Regions from separate parts of the Homo sapiens genome. Here all the other regions are linked to region 5. The links are contacts of gene promoters, found by promoter capture Hi-C in human tissues and cell types (Jung and others, 2019). All regions are on one chromosome and are shown on one strand. Each heading gives the region's core, a stretch centred on a gene start or on the middle of the fragment in contact. The rest is flanking DNA. Distances are from core to core; before and after follow the strand shown.

What was found. Contacts are between HindIII fragments. The study calls those that stand out against the background at their distance.
Region 1: a contact is called between the fragment with the promoter of C20orf173 here and the fragment with the promoter of CNBD2 in region 5, in 5 of the 25 tissues and cell types used here (aorta, dorsolateral prefrontal cortex, small bowel and 2 more).
Region 2: a fragment that was not itself captured here is called in contact with the fragment with the promoter of CNBD2 in region 5 in 1 of the 25 tissues and cell types used here (lymphoblastoid cells).
Region 3: a fragment that was not itself captured here is called in contact with the fragment with the promoter of CNBD2 in region 5 in 6 of the 25 tissues and cell types used here (dorsolateral prefrontal cortex, heart left ventricle, lymphoblastoid cells and 3 more).
Region 4: a fragment that was not itself captured here is called in contact with the fragment with the promoter of CNBD2 in region 5 in 1 of the 25 tissues and cell types used here (spleen).
Region 6: a contact is called between a fragment that was not itself captured here and the fragment with the promoter of CNBD2 in region 5, in 2 of the 25 tissues and cell types used here (small bowel and spleen).
Region 7: a contact is called between a fragment that was not itself captured here and the fragment with the promoter of CNBD2 in region 5, in 2 of the 25 tissues and cell types used here (IMR-90 fibroblasts and lymphoblastoid cells).

The regions. Positions count from the first base shown.
Region 1 is chr20:35,528,308-35,531,007 of GRCh38, forward strand. It overlaps C20orf173 (chromosome 20 open reading frame 173), which reads right to left and starts at 1,345. Exons shown (of 6, transcript NM_001145350.2): 1 at 1,252-1,345; 2 at 758-1,117; 3 at 394-572; 4 at 144-237. The coding sequence starts at 1,066. The HindIII fragment of the contact is 31,043 bases long and covers 1-2,700 here.
Region 2 is chr20:35,474,300-35,476,999 of GRCh38, forward strand. It overlaps CEP250 (centrosomal protein 250), which reads left to right. Exons shown (of 35, transcript NM_007186.6): 15 at 1,203-1,347; 16 at 2,150-2,296. It overlaps CEP250-AS1 (CEP250 antisense RNA 1), which reads right to left. Exons shown (of 3, transcript NR_184017.1): 3 at 1-2,376. Among named protein-coding and RNA genes, the nearest start is that of CEP250-AS1, 15 kb to the right of the region's middle. The HindIII fragment of the contact is 3,045 bases long and covers 1-2,700 here.
Region 3 is chr20:35,643,674-35,646,373 of GRCh38, forward strand. The region is part of intron 1 of CPNE1 (copine 1); the gene reads right to left. Among named protein-coding and RNA genes, the nearest start is that of CPNE1, 20 kb to the right of the region's middle. The HindIII fragment of the contact is 5,383 bases long and covers 1-2,700 here.
Region 4 is chr20:35,498,390-35,501,089 of GRCh38, forward strand. It overlaps CEP250 (centrosomal protein 250), which reads left to right. Exons shown (of 35, transcript NM_007186.6): 27 at 206-327; 28 at 1,660-1,780. Among named protein-coding and RNA genes, the nearest start is that of CEP250-AS1, 8.8 kb to the left of the region's middle. The HindIII fragment of the contact is 7,280 bases long and covers 1-2,700 here.
Region 5 is chr20:35,967,221-35,969,920 of GRCh38, forward strand. It overlaps CNBD2 (cyclic nucleotide binding domain containing 2), which reads left to right and starts at 1,370. Exons shown (of 12, transcript NM_001365709.1): 1 at 1,370-1,593. The coding sequence starts at 1,543. It also overlaps the pseudogene LOC124904982. The HindIII fragment of the contact is 12,223 bases long and covers 1-2,700 here.
Region 6 is chr20:35,596,270-35,599,077 of GRCh38, forward strand. It overlaps the pseudogene FER1L4. Among named protein-coding and RNA genes, the nearest start is that of SPAG4, 18 kb to the right of the region's middle. The HindIII fragment of the contact is 5,332 bases long and covers 1-2,808 here.
Region 7 is chr20:35,659,885-35,662,605 of GRCh38, forward strand. The region is part of intron 1 of CPNE1 (copine 1); the gene reads right to left. The region is part of intron 1 of RBM12 (RNA binding motif protein 12); the gene reads right to left. Among named protein-coding and RNA genes, the nearest start is that of CPNE1, 3.7 kb to the right of the region's middle. The HindIII fragment of the contact is 4,098 bases long and covers 1-2,721 here.

The DNA of each region.
Region 1 (2,700 bases), core at 95-2,594, 440 kb before region 5:
GAGTTTGGGCCACAAGACCTGGGAAAGTCCTGCAAGTGTCCCCAGTAAGCCAATAGAAGGTCTTCCCAGAGCCCCTGCTGTTACTCCCTGCAGTGACCTCCCCTCACCCCCACACAGAGAATGTCTGGGGACACCTCCATCACCTTATCACTTAGAGCATCTGAAGTCCACACCAGGTCAGAGAGCTTCCGCAGTAGCATCTCCAGCTGCATCCAGGAGCCCTGGTCGCTGGCATTCCTGGGATAGATGAAGCATTGTGTGTGGTTTGGTTCCCCACGTCCATCTCAAAGCCCTGGACTTGGGGCCTGCTTCATCTTGGGAAGGGGAGCAGAAACTGATGGAACTGTGGGGCAGGCCTGGCCTTCCTGCTCCCGCCCTCTCCCCAGCACCCACCTGAAAACCACGGGGTATTGGTCGATGTCGTTGCCAAGGCTGGAGCCCTGCGGGATCTGTGGGCGCCCCAACAGCACACAAGTCCCACAATAGAAATCAAAATGGCTCACCGAGAGCCTGGGAATCCCTTTAAACAGCTTCCTCCACAATTTCCCAAGCTCGCTCCCTGAGTTCATGCCCTGGAAACAGCAAGAGGGAGATTGGGGGCTGGGCCCAGGGGAGAGAAAACAGAGCTGGGTGGGTGAGATCTCCATCCAGAGGCTGTGAAGACAGGGCCAAGGGCAGGGATTTGGGCGGAAAGTGGGAGATGGGTGAGGCCCGGAAAGCATGGGGGATATGGCCGGGCCCAGTGTTGACCACTGACCAACCACCAGAGCACAGTGTCAGAGGTCATAGACTCTCTTGTCCTCATCAGGTACCCCATAGTCTTCCTGGAGCACGCATCAAGCCAGTTCCATTCGTCGGCTGTGTGGTGGCAGGAGGAGCAGTTGAGGGTCTCAGAAGGGCAGCCACACTTCCCGGAACTGAACCAAGGGCAGTCGCAATGCTGTGGTACCAAGTACATTCGTTTTTCCTGGGGTGCTGATTCAGGTGTCAGATCCAGATAGGGGGTCATCAGCCAGAGGATGAGCACCCAAAAGACCCACAGGACAAAAATCTGCCAGCGCTTCATGTCTGGCCCAGGCGGTGGCTCCCGTGGTGGGCCGTAGACTGGCTTCTCTACCTGTAAGGATGAGGGGCTGAGGCCACAGACAGCACCAGCTTCCCTCTGTCCTGTCGGCCTCCACAACTCCCCATCCCACCACCTTCCACCTCCTTCCAACCCCTCCTCTCCTGCCTCACTATCCATTTGCTCACCCTCAAAACGGTCTCTGACTGGGCATGGGGTGGAAGAGGCCAGGGCAGAGAGACAGCATGTGGCTAGTCCTGAGAGGGGAAGGAATACCTCAGTGGGGGCCTTGCTGTCATCCCAGTTATATCATAGATCTCATCACAAAGTACACATTGTGACCTCCCTCCTTTAGCCTGCCTGAAAAAAGCCACCACCCTACCCTTTCTCTGACACCGAAATGACCTCCACTGGATGTAAGATTCATGAGGACAGGGGCTGACCTAGTCTCTCTTCTTCACCTCTGCAGCTCTAAGACTTAGAATCATTTAATAAATATTTATGGGATAAATAAACAGGGGTTGAGAGGGAACTTTTTTTTTTTTTTTTGAGATGGAGTTTTTGCTCTGTTGTCCAGGCTGGAGTGCAGTGGCATGATCTTGGCTCACTGCAACTTCCGCCTGCCTGGTTCAAGCGATTCTCATGCCTCAGCCTCCCAAGTAGCTGGGACTACAGGCATGCGCCACCACGCCTGGCTAATTTTTATATTTTTAGTGGAGACAGGGTTTCGCCATATTGGCCAGGCTGGTCTCAAACTCCTGACCTCAAGTGATCCGCCCACCTCAGCCTCCCAAAGTGCTGGAATTACAGGCGTGAACCACCATGCCCAGCCGGGAACTTTATTTTTAAATTATTATTATTATTATTATTATTATTATTATTATTATTATTATTTTGAGACGGAGTTTCACTCTTGTCGCCCCAGCTGGAGTGCAGAGGCACGATCTCGGCTCACTGCACCCTCTACCTCCCGGGTTTAAGTGATTCTCTTGCCTCGGTTTCCCAAGTAGCTGGGATTACAGGTGCCCGCCACCACGCCTGGCTAATTTTTTTGTATTTTTAGTAGAGACGGGGTTTCCCCATGTTGGTCAGACTGATCTCGAACTTCTGACCTCAGGTGATCCGCCCGCCTTGGCCTCCCAAAGTGTTGGGATTACAGGCATGAGCCACTGCACCCCGCCCCAGCCTGGAACTTTAAATATACTTGTGTGTGATGCCCTCTCTGGAGTTGTGTGACATCAACTCAATCCTCTCTTGTAGTCTCTAGACCCCATATCCAACAGCCTACTGAATTGCCACTTAGATGGCTCAGAGACATCTCACCTGAATAAGCCTGAGACTGAACCCAGGATTTTCCCTGTAAACCAACCCTTCCCAAAACTTCTCTGTCTCTTTTGTTTTGTTTGAGACAGAGTCTTGCTCTGTCACCCAGGCTGGAGTGCAGTGGCGCAATCTCAGCTCACTGCAACTTCTGCCTCCTCCGGGGTTCAAGCAATTCTCCTGCCTCTGCCTCCCGAATAGCTGGGATTACAGGTGCGTGCCACCAAGCCCGGCTAATTTTTTGTATTTTTGGTACAAACGGGATTCCACCATGTTGGCCAGGCTGATCTCAAACTCCTGACCTCAGGTAATCTGCC
Region 2 (2,700 bases), core at 192-2,691, 490 kb before region 5:
CCTGATTTCAGGGAACTTGCCAGAAGACAGACAACTCACTGTGACATGAGGCTGGATGAAGTATGAGTTAAATAGAGTTTCAGACCAAGTCCTTTGGGAGCACAGGAGTGACAGCTAATTATTGAAGACTAGGAAATGCTTTATGGAGGAGAGAGTAGACTTTGAGCTGGGCCTTTACCTATTTGGTTAGCAGAGAGTGGGAGAAGAGCTCAAGGAACAGATTAGCAAAGAAAAGGCGGCAGGAAGGTTCATGGCATGTTCAGAGTAGGCTGGGCTGGCTAAAGGGTAAGACTTATACAGGGAAGTAGTGGGAAATGTGCTAGCTGGTCAAGAAAGGGAAATCCAGAATCAATGGCCCCAGCTAATCTGTAAATTCCCCTATATGATGTCACAGAAAAAGCAAGGACTTTGAGCTAGGCAGAAGCTTAGTTTAAATTATGGCTCTGTCACATGGACAGATTATTTGTAGAATGATGATAATATTTACCTTGAAGGGTTGCTGGGAAGATGAGAGCAATGTTTTGGAAAACGCCAGCATAGAACCTGGCATATGGTAGGTCTTTAATAACTGGGAGCAGGGATATATCTTCATCTTTGCTGTATTTCCCTCCTCTCCTGTGCCCCAGTTCCTTGTACCTGGTAGGCATGAATAGTGGAAGCTTGAAGGGCTGCCATAAGGGTCATGACTTGTGCTAAGAATGATCTCCCTGTACCAAGGAGAAGGGCAGACAACCCCTAACAACAAAAAATTAGCTGTAGCTGAATGTGGTGGCATGTGCCTGTAGCCATGGCAAGGTGAGATGGGAGGATCACATGAGCCCCCAGGAGTTTGAGGCTTCAGTGAGCTAAGAAGATACACAGAGAAGTCTCACTCTCATTTGTGCTTTCTCCATCCCATTTCCCTTCCCCCTTTAGGCAACCATTTTAGCTGACTTCTTGTTTATCTTGCCAGTGCTCCTTCATGCAAATACGGGCATATATTCTTTCTTCCCCCACTTTCTTGCATAAAAGGTAGTGTATCATGTATATACTGTTCTGCACCTTGATTTTTTTCACTTGACATGTCTTAGAAATCTTTCCTTATCAGTGTTTATAGACCATCCTCATTCTGTTGCATAGCAAAGGTGATTATATTCCTGTTACCTTTGGGGTTATGGCCCATCCCTAAGAGTTCCTCTAGACCCCTCTCTTTCCCATCTTAGTCAGGAGATGCTGATGGGCCTGGAAGCCAAACAGTCAGAATCACTCAGTGAACTGATCACTCTTCGGGAAGCCCTGGAGTCAAGTCACCTGGAAGGGGAGTTACTGAGGCAAGAGCAAACGGAAGTGACCGCAGCGCTGGCTAGGGTGCGTGGCCTCCTCTCCTCACTTGCTGGGTGGGCGGCTTCGAAAGTGTGTTCCCATGCAGCCTGCCTCATTCTTCACCTTCAAGCCAGGATCCCTCATCTTTCCTCAATCATTAGTCTGCTTCTGGGTTCTCTATTCCAACATACCCTCTATATTGGAATTAGAATGGGCTTTCTAAAGTATATACCTGGTTATGTCAGTCTCTTAAAACCATTCAACGGCTTTCTAGCTCTGTGGTGCCACATTCAAAGCTTTTTGTCATGTGCCTCAAAGTGTGTTTTAGCCTCCCCTTCTACTGCAAAACCCATCCTAACACCTCATATCCTTTGCTCCTGCCACAGCAGTAATTGCCTTCTCAGTTATTCCATGTTCTTCATGACTCTAATACTCTGCGTGTACTTTTCCCTTTCTCTGCACTACTTCTTTCCTCTTCCTTTATGTGCAAACTGTTCCTCATCTCTCAGTACACAACTTAATCGTCAACTCCTCTACCAAGCATATTTGACTCTTCCAAACTATATTAATATTTTTTTTAGTTCCCAGAGCACTTTGTGCTTACATTTTCTGTGGCATCATTACAATCATAGTCATTTCTCTATCCTAACTTTGGTATCTCTATACTGTGAGGTCCTGTCTCACTCCTTAATGAATGAATGAAGGGAAAACTTGTTTAGAATGCAGGAGAGGGAATGGAGTATTAACTGATCTCTGTACCAAAAAGCAGCAGTGTTGGGAATGTGAACTGTTTACTGTTCCAGGAAAATTGGAAATATGAAACTCTTTAATCCTTTTTGTTTTTTAGGCAGAGCAGTCAATTGCAGAGCTGTCGAGTTCTGAAAACACCCTGAAGACAGAAGTAGCTGATCTTCGGGCTGCAGCTGTCAAGCTCAGTGCCTTAAATGAGGCTTTGGCGTTAGATAAAGTTGGGCTGAACCAGCAGCTTCTCCAGGTGAGCAAAGATTTTCCTGGTCCCCACAGAAGGGCTGGGCCCTAACTGAGAGCAAGACGGATCAGCTCCCAAATGTAGGTCTGAAATGAGCAAAAGGAACATTTACAATGCAGAGGAGAGCAAAGACTGTAAGGATTGGGCTTAGCCATTATAAATATTCCCCTCCCACACCTCCAGCAGAACCACCTCTGGACTTCAGGGTAAGACACCAAGGTTGGGAAGGGGCCCATGTCCTCTGGAAGGAAGACTAGGTTTTTTGCTGGGGTTTTCTTGAGATGGATCTCCCTCTGTCACCTAGGCTGGAGTGCAGTGGTGCGATCTTAGCTAACTGCAGTTTTCATCTCCTGGGTTCAAGCAATTCTCCTGCCTCAGCCTCCTGAGTAGCTGGGATTACAGGCATGTGT
Region 3 (2,700 bases), core at 158-2,657, 320 kb before region 5:
CGGAGCTGAGATCACGCCACTGCACTGCAGCCTAAGCAACAGAGTGAGACTCTGTTGCGAAAACAAAAAAACAACAAAGTAAGTTCAGGTCCCCCTCTGCAATCATAAGCTTGACCGTGGAGGCCAAGAAGCCCTACCAATAGGTAAGGGCCCTCCACACTATAGTTGGAGTTGGCAAACTGAAAAGGCTCCTTCCCCAGCAGCTCAGAATCCATGACAGAAGACTGCTGCCAGTGGCCTCCCACTTTCCCTAAAAGTCAGGGAGGGGCTGGGGATAGTTGAGGGAGGGTTTCTACCTGAGGAGTCATACAAGCATCCATGATTAAAACATCTTTGTTTTCCCCTTACTATTAATTATTTTTCTCTGCCTGGATTACCCCACCTGTAAAGTAGGGATGATAATGTTAACTTTACAGTGTTATTTGTGAGGATTACATGAGGACAGTCATAGAAAGTATCCCCTGCCCGGCACAGAGTAAGTACCCAGTGTCAACTGTCCCTGTAGGTGCTCACAAACAGGGAAGTGCACCTTTGGGTCCTTCTGCAGTATCATTAACTCCTTCTTGGTTAATTGGACCAAGGAGGAGTGGATCCAGGAGGAATGCCTCTGGTCTACCTGCTCCAGGATATAACTAGCAGGACAGGGACAGCCCCCAAAAGGAGAGATGAAGACTCTTCCCCTTTGAATTTCTCAAGCTGCAGTGTAGAATCACTACCACACTAGGGAAACCAGGAGAGCAGTACCCAGATCAAAATTTGGAGCTCCATTCCTGGTCACTTTAGTTTAAGGTCCAAACTCAGTACAGATTTCCAGAAACCGAATGGCTAGGTTCATACAATCACAGAAGCTTAAAACTGGACACAAGCTTATCTAATTTAATCCCATACTGTAAAAGAAACACTGAGGCCAGAGGGAAATAATCTGTCCTAAGTCACATAACTGATGGAACCACGAACCGATTCTGAGAATGTTATTTCTATATCCAACCATTTTAGCAACAGTTCACATTTTGTAATTCACCCCAATCTGAAATCTACCCTGCCACTACAACAGCAGTGAGACTCACATGGTCTCCCCTCATGATCTATGCTAATGTTAGCCTTGCACAAACATGGAATATAATTCTCCCTATTTGTCTGACTGCTGGGGAAGGAAGGTAGGAAATCCTGGACTCCACATTTACAGGAGTTGATCAAAGGAATAAATTTTAAGTAGCAAGCATGCATAGTGCAAATAAGGTAGAACTCACCTCTAAAAAATGTGATCTGTATCAAAATTTTCAAAGGACATCTATAGGGTAGTCAATTCTGCCCCCATCCCTCCCGGCTGAAATCTACATTCTTTTAATGTCTATCACCTGTGGGGTGTCTGAGACAACAGTACTATACCGCCTTCCTGATGATCTCCAGGACTGAGGCATCACCAAATACCTGTGCATCTACAGTGTGCACAAAAGGAGTGTATATCTCCTACAGCACAAAATGAGATGAGTAAATGAACAAAAGCAGACCAGAGCTCTTGGAAAAGAAACCTACCTATTGTTCATAATGCAAGCCCCTTACCCTTCACTGGAATAAATTCATTTGGGACACTGGGGAGAGTTTAAGATGGGTCTTCAGAATTTACATGTTAGGGAAGCCGAGAAAGCAAAGGAATATTTCAACAACAGGAAACTACACTATGACAAAGACTAGTTTACACTTGTTCCTGTCTAACCATAACTTAGCAAATGGCCAGGAAAGCCACTACCTGGTTCCCGTGGTATAGGAATGTACCTAGTATAAGCACAACCAAGCACTTAGTTGTGACTTAAAACCCTCAACTGTTGAAGAACAGGAACCTTATTTTGCTTTTCCACCAAAGTATAAGTGCTGGGTGCACACCACTGCAAAAATCTGTTAGTATGAGATACAGCTATGGCTAAGCTGTACATTCATGTGAAGTTGTCTTAAAAGCTTGAAGGTGACAGGTGCTTCCAATTCCAATCTGTCAATTCAATGGTCATAGAAGTAAAGCAGCTCATCTACATCAGTAATTAGTAGTTGCATTAATGTCCATCACTTCAGTCAGAGTTACAGCACAGGGACCCTACTGGTCCCACAGGCCAAACCACAGAAGGGAGTTATGTATAAAGGCTGGGCCACTCTCCAGCCCCCACTGCAATCTAATGTGTGGAGTATAGTGGAGTGTGGCATTAACAAACTTCCAAGTGGGATCACAGAAAAATCAAGGCAATCAGAGGCACTGGTACCAGTTGGTGTGATTTAAAACCTTTTAAGAAACTGAGGCCAGGCATAGTGGCTCACACCTGTAATCCCAGCACTTTGAGAGGCCAAGGCGGGAGCATCACTTGAGCCCCGGAGTTCAAGACCGGCCTGAGCCACATAGTGAAACTACCCCTCCACTCCACCATCACCCCTACCCCAGCAATTACCTCATCTCTACAAAAAAATTAAAAAAAAAAAAAAATAGCTACTTAGGAGGCTGAAGCAGGATTGCTTGAGCCCAGGACATCGAGGTTACAGTGAGCTGACTGTACCACTGCACTCCAGCCTGGGCAGCAGAGCAAGACCATCTCAAAAAAAAAAAAAAAAAAAAAAAAAAGAAACAAAAAAACTATTTAACCCTCTTAAATCCTTCCCACTGTGTGACTTGTGGTGTAGCACAATGTGGTTGTTATCATTTGATATGAAGCACAA
Region 4 (2,700 bases), core at 34-2,533, 470 kb before region 5:
ATAAGTGATAGCTCGCATTAATCTAGCACCCACCATAGTGCCTGGCCCATACTTATGGAGAAAATATGTGATGAGTGAACTGCTGAGAAAGGGGTTCTTTGCGGAGAGGAGGGACCAGTTGGAAGGACAGGGCTGTGTCTGGAGAGGTCTGGCTGTTTCTTTTCATAGTGGCAGCCAGGTAAGGAGGTTTTCCTCATTTTTTCAGACCAGAATGGAGCTAGGAGCCTCTTTAAGAGAGGGCCCCTGCTGACTGCTCTCTCCGCTGAGGCAGTAGCATCTGCCCTCCACAAGCTTCATCAAGACCTGTGGAAGACTCAACAGACCCGGGTATGTTTCTCTGCTCCCCTTTCCCGAACTCTTTACATCCCTGGAAAAGCATGAGGCAAAGGGGTGTGAAGCAGTTTGACCTGTTTTATTCCTGAGATCAAGTTGGGATGAGTTTCACCTCTATCACTTACCACCTGGCAACCACAAATGAAGCATTTGAAGTTCCTGGGCCTTGTTTTCCCTTGCAGAGTAGGGCAGATAGTGCCTGCTCAGGGTTTTGAGGATTAGATGAGAGAGGATCTTGAATGAGCCCTGTAAACCAAAAAACCCTGGGTAGGCCAGGCACGGTGGCTCATGCCTGTAATCCCAGTGCTTTGGGAGGCTGAGACAGGTGGATCACCTGAGGTCAGGAGTTCAAAATCAGCCTGGCCAACATGGTGAAACCCCATCTCTACTAAAAATACAAAAATTAGCCAGAGGTGGCGGTGGGCACCTGTAATCCCAGCTACTCAGGAGGCTGAGGCAGGAGAATCACTTGAACCTGGGAGGTGGAGGTTGCAGTGAGCCAAGATTGTGCCATTGCACTCCAGGTTGAACGACAAAAGTGAAACTCCATCTCAAACAAACACAAAAAAACCCTGGGCAGATGTATGGCATTGTTTTCCATCATCTTCCACTCAGCTATGAATTAATTCTTGGTACCCAGGCTTCCAAGAGAAACCCTAGAAATCAGTGACCACTGAGATTTGAGGTTGGCATTTATAGGCATGTTCTAGGCCTAGGTCTGAAAGAGCTCATAAATTCCACCTCACAGTGAACCTATCAGTCAATACAAATTGAGTGTCATCCATATGTCAGCCACTCTGGGCTGGGTATACAAAAAGGAGAAAGACCTGGTCTCTGCCTAAAGAAGGCTTGTGACATGGTGGAGGAACCAAACTGCATTCTACTGGAAAGCAGAACTGAGAGAATTAATTGGATCAATAACAGACGCAAGTGATGCACTGTTGGAACTAGGAGGAGGGGGCAATTCATCCTGATTTGGGAAGGGTCAGAAGGAAAGAAGAGATGACCTTTGGGCTGAGCTTTGAAGTAGGAGTGTTGAGAGGGAAGTGGTGACCCCTGGGCTAACTTTGAGCAGGAGCTCTGTTTCAAAAGACATAGATAGGTCAGAAGGGGATGGATTCTCACACTCCATCCAAGTGGAGCAGAGCCTGTCATCACTTCAGGAAGCTAAATACACATGTGTTTAAAGGAAGTAACCCGGCAATCTGGGAGTAGGTCCACAATGGCGGCCCACCACAGAAGCTGAGAATGAGGAGAGAGCTTGAGCCCTGCATTGTTTTGTGGAAGATGAGGAACTCACGTTTAGCCATGCCCTTCCTTTCCCAGGATGTTCTGAGGGATCAGGTCCAGAAACTGGAAGAGCGTCTAACTGATACTGAGGCTGAGAAGAGCCAGGTCCACACAGAGTTGCAGGATCTGCAGAGACAGCTCTCCCAGAATCAGGAAGGTGAGAAGCTCAAGACAGGCAGGGAGATTGAGAGGGAGAAGGGATAGGTGGGGAGCCCAGAAGTGGCAGGCACAGGCCTAGCAGCCACTCTGTTTATTTTATTTTATTTTTGAGACGACATCTCACTCTGTCACTCAGGTTTGAGTACAATGTCACGACTTCGGCTCGCTGCAACCTATGTCTTCCGAGCAGCTAGGATTATAGGCATGCGCCACCACGCCTGGCTAATTTTTTTGGATTTTTAATAAAGACGGGGTTTCACCATGTTCACCAACCAGCGGAGCCACCGGGGTCTCTAGGAGCTCCTGCACAATTATAGGATTGGGGGCTAGAAGGGACCTCCAGTGTCATCTGGCTCAACCCTGTCTGGAATTGAGGGCCAAGGCTCTCTGTGATGAGGATGAGGACATATTGGGATGATTACCAGGCAGCGCTGGGGCTGGCAGCAGCAGGGAGTGCTTGAACTCCTGGCCTCAAGTGATCCGCCTGCCTCGACCTCCCAAAGTGCTAGGATTACAGGCGTGAGCCACTGCGCCCAGCTGCACTGCATTATTTACCCAGAAATGTGAGGTGAGATCTAGATGCACTTCCAAAGGGGTGCTGACCACCTTGAACTATTTTTTCAGCTTTGCTTGGCCTTTGAGGCCCATCCTGGAAGAAGAGATTAGGAGGAACAGATTTGATGAACTGAAAGAAGGAAATGGCTGGGCTTCCATTTTCTGTCTCTGTAGATTTAAAAATTAAAAAAATTGGAGACCCAGGGCCAGGACTGTAAGAACATTATAAAACTGCATCTTTTGTCATCCATGTTACTTATTTTTATCATCTTCAACTGTGTCCTCCAAGTTAGCCTTTGGTAGCTGAGGGATTATGAGCTTATTTGGGAGAAAGCAAAGAGAGGGGATCTGGGGAGGATATAT
Region 5 (2,700 bases), core at 120-2,619:
TGCCAATTCCCCCTCCCGCTTTTTTTTTTTTTTTTTTTTTTTTTTTTGAGACAGAGTCTTGCTCTGTCGTTCAGGCTGGAGTGCAGTGGCACAATCTTGGCTGACTGCAACCTCTGCCTCCCGGGTTCAAGTGATCCTCCCACCTCAGCCTCCCGAGTAGCTGGGATTATAGGTGCCCACCACCTCACCCGGCTAATTTTTTTGTATTTTTAGTAGGGATGGGGTTTCACCACATTGGCCAGGCTGGACCAGACCTTGCTTCTGTTAATTGGATGCTACAAATGGAGAGCAAGTGTACCTGACATTTAGCTACACTGCTTTCTTAAAAAAAAAAAAAAAAAAAAGGCCCTGGCCAGGAGTGGTGGTTTATGCCTGTAATCCCGGCACTTTGGGAGGCTGAGGTGGGTGGATCACTTGAGGTCAGGAGCTTGAGACCAGCCTGGGCAACGTGGTGAAAGCCTGTCTTTACTAAAAATACAAAAATCAGCCGGGCATGGTGGCACACGCCTGTAATCCTAGCTACTTGGGCGGCTGAGGCAGGAGAATCACTTGAATTTGGGAGGCAGAGGTTGCAGTGAGCTGAGATTGGGCCACTGCACTCCATCCTGGGAACAAAGTGAGACAGTGTCTCAAAAAACAAAAAAGCCCTATCTTTGCAGGACAGGTGAGCCCCCAAATTGAGACTTAGCTTAGGAGAGTTCTTGGCTTTGCCCAAGGAAGGAATTCAAGGGTGAGCCAGTGGTGTTAGACAGCAATCTTTTATTGAATAGTGCTTCTCCTTGTGGGGCAGGGCTAACTCATGGGCAATGAATCCGGAGTCGATACCCAGTGTATGAGATGTTGGCAACTGTATTTATGCTCATCTCTAATCCCTTCTCAGCCTTTTGGCTGAGATCAAGTGTAGTATACGCATTCCTACCCACTTTCAATCACATGCAAATTAAGGGGCAGGCTAATGCAAATTAAGGGGCAGGTTAATGCAAATTAAGGAGTGGGTTTTTAGAGTTTTCTAGGAAAGAGGTAGCAACTTCCTGGTCATTGCCAAGACATTTGTACACTGTCATGGCACTGGTAGGAGTGTCTTATGTTAATGAGGGATGGGGACAGCTAGGGGGTCCTAGATCCTGTTTTGGTCAGCAGGGTTGTGCCATTCTCCTGTCTCACCAGGACTCTGGCAGCCATTTAGCTACTTTGAGCCCCAGTCTCCTATGTATGGAGTTGAGTAAAAGTTTGGGTGGTTGTGAGGATTAGCTGAGATAATGCCTGTGAGTATCCCATAAATGTTAGACTCCCACATTCCAATCCCTGTGTCCCCTGCCTCCAGAATCTTTCATTGTGACCTTAGGAGATTCTGAGAATGATTTTTCTCAGAGCAGGGCTTCCAGTAGCTGATGGTATGGTAGGAGGAGTGGAGTGGAGCTCTTGCCTTGTTACTGAGGAAATCTATTTGTTTCTAGTATTACTGGATTTTTGGGGAAAAATTTGTAGTCCTCCCCTTGAAAGGCAAAGGGGCTAGTTGTGCCATTTGCCTGCACAGGAACCATGAGGAGACATATGGTAACTTATGCCTGGCAGCTCCTGAAGAAGGAACTGGTGAGGAGGGGCAAGGGCCCTGGGAGGGAAGAGCAGAAGACTGAACAGACAGGTGTTTTGAGGAAGGTCGATGCAGGTGTAGGAGGGGTCTTGGATGAATGGTGGCCATCCTGTACCTTTTGGAGTCACAGCATGGCACAAAGGAGGGACCCCTGCCCTGTAGCCTACCAGCCCCCCACACTGGGCAAGCCATAAGCCACACTCAGAGCCACTGAGTCCTGTTCTGTACCCACTCTTCCTGCTATTATGAGATCCAGAGAGAACGAGGGAGGATAGAGTCAGGGTAGCAACATTGAGTCATAGGTTAAGCTTGTGAACTCTGGAGCCAGACTACCTAGGTTTAAATCCCTATCACCTATTAGTCATGTGACCCCAGGCAAGTTGCTTGGTTTGCTGTGCCTTTATTTTCTCCTCTGTAAAGTGAGATGATAATACTAGTACCTACTGCATAAATTTACTGATTAAATGATTTACATATCAGAATAGTGCTTTGGATAATGCCTGACAATAGTAAATTGTACTCAGTAAGTATTAATTTTATTCATAAAGTACCTTTCCCCATATTTCCATAGATATCTAATTTTTAAGAAATAGAACATTACAGGTGTAGGGAAAGCTCTTTACCATCCCATGCCCCTTTATTTCTCTTTAATAGTAACCACTTTCCTGAAGTTGGTGTCACCCTTCCTGTTTATATTTTTATATATTATCACATGTGTATGTATCCATAAACAATATATAGTATGTGGCACACTGTTTAAAAATGATACCATAAATAGCATCATAGTTCTTTTTTCCCACTCAAAATCATTTCAGCTTTATCCACATTGACACACACAGACTTAGTGCTGTGTTCAATCCTGTGACTGAACCATAATGTATTGATCCCTTCGATCCCTACTAATGAACATTTGTTTTCAGCCATTCACTGTTACACACAATGTTGCCATGATTACCCTCATGGCTATCCCCTTGTACATGTATGTTTCTCTGAAGAGGACATATAAAGTACATACAATTCTTCCATTGTGAAGTACACACATCCTCAACTTTATATAATGTTGCCAAATTGCTCTTCAACATGGTTGTACCATGTTTCCCAGTTCC
Region 6 (2,808 bases), core at 162-2,661, 370 kb before region 5:
TTTCACCTCAGAACTTTCGAGTCATCTCTCACTGCTCTTTCTCTCTTATTCCACATCAATTCATCAGCAAATTCTTTATGCTCTACCTTCAAAAAATATCCAGAATCTGGCCAGGTGTGGTGGCTCAGGCCTGTAATCCCCGCACTTTGGGAGGCCGAGGCGGTGAATCACTTGAGGTCAGGAGTTCGAGACCAGCCTGGCCAAAATGGTGAAACAACTGTGTCTACTGACGCTGAAAGGTTGAGCATGGTGAGAACAGAAAAGTGACCACCTACAGCCTCCTACCTCACTGCCTCTCCTGATCAGGGTCCTTGGCTGAGTCCCTGCTTCCTCCCTGCCTCTAAATGCTGGAACGCTCCAGGTTCTCAGATTTCTCTTTTCTGTGCTCTGTTAATGCTGTTATCCAGCTCCATCTACATAATGATAGTTCCCAAATTGACATTTCCAGCCTAGAATTCTCCCCAGAACTCAACTCATATAGCTAACTGCCTACCACACATGTCCACTTACAATTCAATAAGAATTTCACAGTTAACATGTCCAAAACTGAGCTCCTACTATCTGCCTTCCCTCAGATCCCACCTCATCCCTGCTTCCATCAGACCTTCTCCTTTGTTTTCTGTTGAAAACAGATTTTTTTCTTTTTTCCAAAAAAAGAAGATTTTGGCTTGCATAACTATGCAGTTGGTGCAGCCTTAAACTCCTGGACTCAAGCCATCCTCCCATCTCAGCCTCCTGAGTAGCTGGGACTACAGGTGTGCACCACCACACCCAGCTAACTTTTGTATTTTTCATAGAGACAAGGTCTTCCTATATTGTTCAGGTTGGTTTCAAACCCCTGGGCTCAATTGATCCTCCCACCTTGGCCTCCCAAAGTGCTGGGATTCCAGGTGTGAGCCACCATGCCCAGCCCACAAGCCAAAATCTTAGCAAGTCCTGAGGTATCACCCCCAATTCCAAATTTTCTCTGGAATCCATTCACAGCACTCCATCTCCACTGCAACCATCCCCTAGATCAGTTCATCGCCACCTGTCACGTGGATTATCACAATAGCCCCTTTACTAATCTCCCTGCTTCCTCCCCCACTGATCCCTTTTAAGGATCTATGTGTTAGAGTGTATCTTTTTCCTTTTCAAAACATTCACTGCCCCTCCCCCCCCATTTCACTCAGAGAAGAAGCCAAAGTCATTAAAATGGCTTGTGAGGCTCCCACAGGATCTGTCCCTCCCCACCATCATCCTCCTTCCCCTGGCCTCCTCCAGCCTCTTCTACTATGTCACACTGCTGCAGTCACACTGGTTCTGTGCTCCTCCTCAAACACTCCAGGCATGCTGTCCCCTCCACCTGGAACACCATTACAGGCAGGCTTTCTCCTCCAGCTTCATGTCACCTTCACGGTGGCCTCCCCTCCACACCCTTTCTGAAATTGCAGTACCTCTTTCTAATGCTTCCTTGCTTCGCGTTCTTTCTTAACACTTATCCTACTTAGTATTTTTCTATCTGTTTACATGCTTATTTCACATGTCTCCACCCTTCCCCAACCTCTACACCCAAATGTAAGCTTCAGGGTTTTTTTTTAAAGTCAGGGTCCCATTCTGTCACCCAGACTGGAGTGCAGTGGCGCAATCATGGTTCACTGCAGCCTTGAACTCCTGGGCTCAAGATCTTCCCACTTCAGCCTCCCACAAGTAGCTGGGACTACAGGCATCAGCCATTGTGCCTGGCCAACTTCAGGGATTTTTGTGGGCAGGAATGCTTTTTCACTGATATTCCTGTGCCTAAAACAGTGTCTGGCATAGTAAGTGCCATAAATAGTTATCAAATAAAGAACCCTTTTGAGAAGAGGATCTGAAAATCACTTAAGTACCTGGAGCAGGTAATGGAATTCAGGGCAGTAGTGAAGGTCAAAGATGGAAGTAACTAGAACATGTTTTTTTTTTGTTTTCTTGTTTGTTTGTTTTTGAGACGTAGTCTTGCTCAGTCACCCAGGCTGGAGTGCAGTGGCGCAATCTTGGCTCACTGCAACCTCCACCTGCCAGGTTCAAGTGACTCTCCTGCCTCAGCCTCCCAAGTAGCTGGGAGGTACCCACCATTATGCCCGGCTAATTTTTGTATTTTTTTGGTAGAGACTGGGTTTCGCCATGTTGGCCAGTCTGGTCTTGAACTCCTGACCTCAAATGATCTGCCCGCCTCAGACTCCAAAAGTGCTGGGATTACGGGTGTGAGCCACCGCACCTGGCCGAACATGTTTATGTGGTTACAGCAATGACCTGGTAACTAGGGACCAATCAATGATGAAGGGGAGAAAATTGACAATTACAGAACTAATTCCTCCAGTGATGAAATCCAGATCACAGCTGTGGTCACTGGAGCAGGAAAGGAGGAGAGCAGATGGATGCAGAAGCCGGCAAGGAGGTAGACTGGGTGTGGGAAGGTGATTAGCAGGAACAAGTGTGAAAGAAAGGAGGCGAGGTTTGAAGAGACACGGGATAAGCCTCTAGGAGCGTGGGAAAGGGAACTCATGGAGATGGAAAACAGCTGAGGTGCCAGAGAATCAGGGGAAGCCTAACCCCCAATAATCTCATCAGCTCCCTGGATAGGAATAATTGTCTTCTCATTTTTCTGTAAGGTGCTGAGCAAATGCAGCTGCAAGCTGCCCTTGGGTCCAGACAGCCACCGAGAGTCTCCCTTGCCCTGGAGTTGGCCCAAGTACAGGCAGCAGTAGGAGTGGCTCTCAGCTCACCTGCTCCCAGCCACCAGTACTTCCAGTGCCTGCTTGAGCTGTGCACAGGCGCCAGGCCCCGGCT
Region 7 (2,721 bases), core at 201-2,700, 310 kb before region 5:
AGAGAGAAGAAATTTGCCACTGTTCAGTATTAAGATTACCTACGACTACTTTTCCAAATGATGCTCATCTTAAATTAGTATCTTCCAAGACCAAAATACAACTAATGACCTTAATATTCATCGCCAAAAAGTAAAACATATTTCAAAAATCTGTGTGATTTTCTAAAGGACAAACTATTCATCGTCTAGTCAACTACTCAAGTTGCTAAAGAATAGTGAGATGGTTTTACCACAAAAAGCTATGCAAATATGTAATCAACACAATCAAAAGTCTAGAGCATTGTATTAATCTTTTACATGTTGTAGAAATCTAGCCTCTTTTTTTTTTCTTTTTTTGAGACAGGGTATCGCTCTGTCGCCCAGGCTAGAGTGCAGTGGCGCGATCTAGGCTCATTAGGCTCATTGCAACCTCCGCCTCCCTGGGTTCAAGCTATTCTCATGCCTCAGCCTCTGGAGTAGCTGGGACTGACTACAGGCTTGCGCCACCACCCGCAGCTTATTTTTGTATTTTTAGTAGAGACAGGGGTTTCATTATGTTACCCAGGCTGGTCTCTTAACTCCTCACCTCAAGTGATCCACCCGCCTCAGCCTCCCAAAGTGCTGAGATTACAGGTGTGAGCCACCACGCCTGGCCTAGCCTAACTAAGTCTAAGGAGTTTAAAAATTCTTCATTTGAAAGCCATATCTAGTAGTTTAACAGGTCACAAAGGAAAATGTGAAACAGAAAAAAACCTGCTTCAAGTAAAGCAATGAGCAAGAGCATGAAGTACTGTAATATTTATGTACAGGTTTGACTCCAGCAGCCACATAACAGGGTAACTTTCTAGTTTCTAGAACTTGTAATAAACATCTGATCCCTACTGGAGATTCCAATTCAAAAGGTCAGGTATGGGGCCAGGGCATATGCCTGAATATAAGGTAAGAAGGTTCCTCTCAGCCTCTTCCCTTGCAAACTCAAAAGATACCGTATGTCTATCTTGAGAAGGACATATCTGGGGTCAGCCAGTTAAGCTCAAAGGGAACTCACCAGGTCTACTCTCAAAAATTTCTAAAAGGTTACCAGAAATTACCTTTAAAAGGAAGATATTTCTCATTCCACAAGGCAAGGCTGAAAGGCCCAGCTGAATTTGACAAATGCCTAGTTCAAGTTTTATGTGTACAACTTAAAGCACAAAATCAATCCAGATAGAAATTTATGATTCTCTTCTATTTCAGCAAAGAGGAATACCCACCCCACCCCATACCAAGGAAAACCATGCAGAAAGTTGATGCTACAAGTCAGAACTTCACAACCCTTGGTATTATACCTCTTCAAAAGGGAAAGGTAAATGGAAATAGAACTGAAATACTTCTGTGTTGACACCTCACTTTGTAAAAACCACAAGAATTTAACATAAGTGTCACTGTTTTCCAGGAAACTACTATTCCTGTATTCTAAATGTCAGCTAGCGACTGAATGCAGGATTTCAAAAATCCACGCCATTTACCTAAAGCTTTGCTGAACTTTAGAAGGATAAGACTAAAATAATAACTAAACAATAAAACATCTAAAATACATATTCTATCTATACATACAGCATAATGATAGGAAAGGAGAAAATGGGCCTGATTTGTCATTAAAGCCACTGATATACTTCAGAAGATCTAAAACAAGAAGCTGGCTTTAGTATGTTTTCCATTCATATTATCAGGAATTAGTCCTAACATAAAGGCTTGCTTCAACTTGACAAAATACCGGATGCATGCACAAATCACAAGTATCTGCTACAAAAATTTAACATATTATGGCAAGACAGACTTTCGTATTTACTAGCCATTCTAATCACTTGGAATTTCAGAAAAAAATGTCTGACAACAAATCTCTTCATCAAGAAGTCAAGGCACAAACTAAAACGACTATTTTCACTCTTCATCTGGTAGTAAACATCCAAAAGTGAACTTTAACTTTGTTCAGTTATCACTCTTTAATCAACAAGAACCAGGGTACAGCAGAGCTAGGTTCTTCAGATCCAAAAGAAACAAACTCTCAAATGTTCACCTCAGAGATTAGCAACAGAGAACCAATCACAACGGGCACAATGCTAAAAACAGTATAATCACATTATAATAAACATTATGAAACAACCACAGTTTCAGCCACTTGATTTTGTTCCCCATTCCCAAATGGACCATATATCAAAGTCTGGGATCACTCTTAATGAAAAAATTATTCTGACACTGATGGAGATGTGTACTTTTTATAACGCATTACTCAATTTTTCCATTAACCTCCATTCCGTACTCAAAGGCAGCAAATCAGAAGACATTTCTAAATAAGATATTCCTCCTGTCAAAAATATTAAGTTATGTTTCAATCCCCCCAAATGCCAACAAAAATGTTGCTACCTTCATTTTCACTTCAGAGCAAAATTATACTTCTAACCTAAACAACCACATTCACTCTGTTTTTGAGTCTTAAAAGCTGGCTTTAAACTTAATTAAATTTTGTGCAAACCAAAAGGTATATGGGTGTGGTAGTAAAATCTGATAAAACTGTAGTTTAGATAAAATTATCTTTTCTGTTTAGTTGAAAACATTTAACAATATTCCTTTACTCCATGAACATTTACTATTAAGCACTTGTGGGCCAGACAAAAGATATAAAAGTGGACATCATCAGTCTCTGCATTTTAGGGAGGGACATCTAAAAGCATCTTTTGTGCAACCAACTACTGACACTTG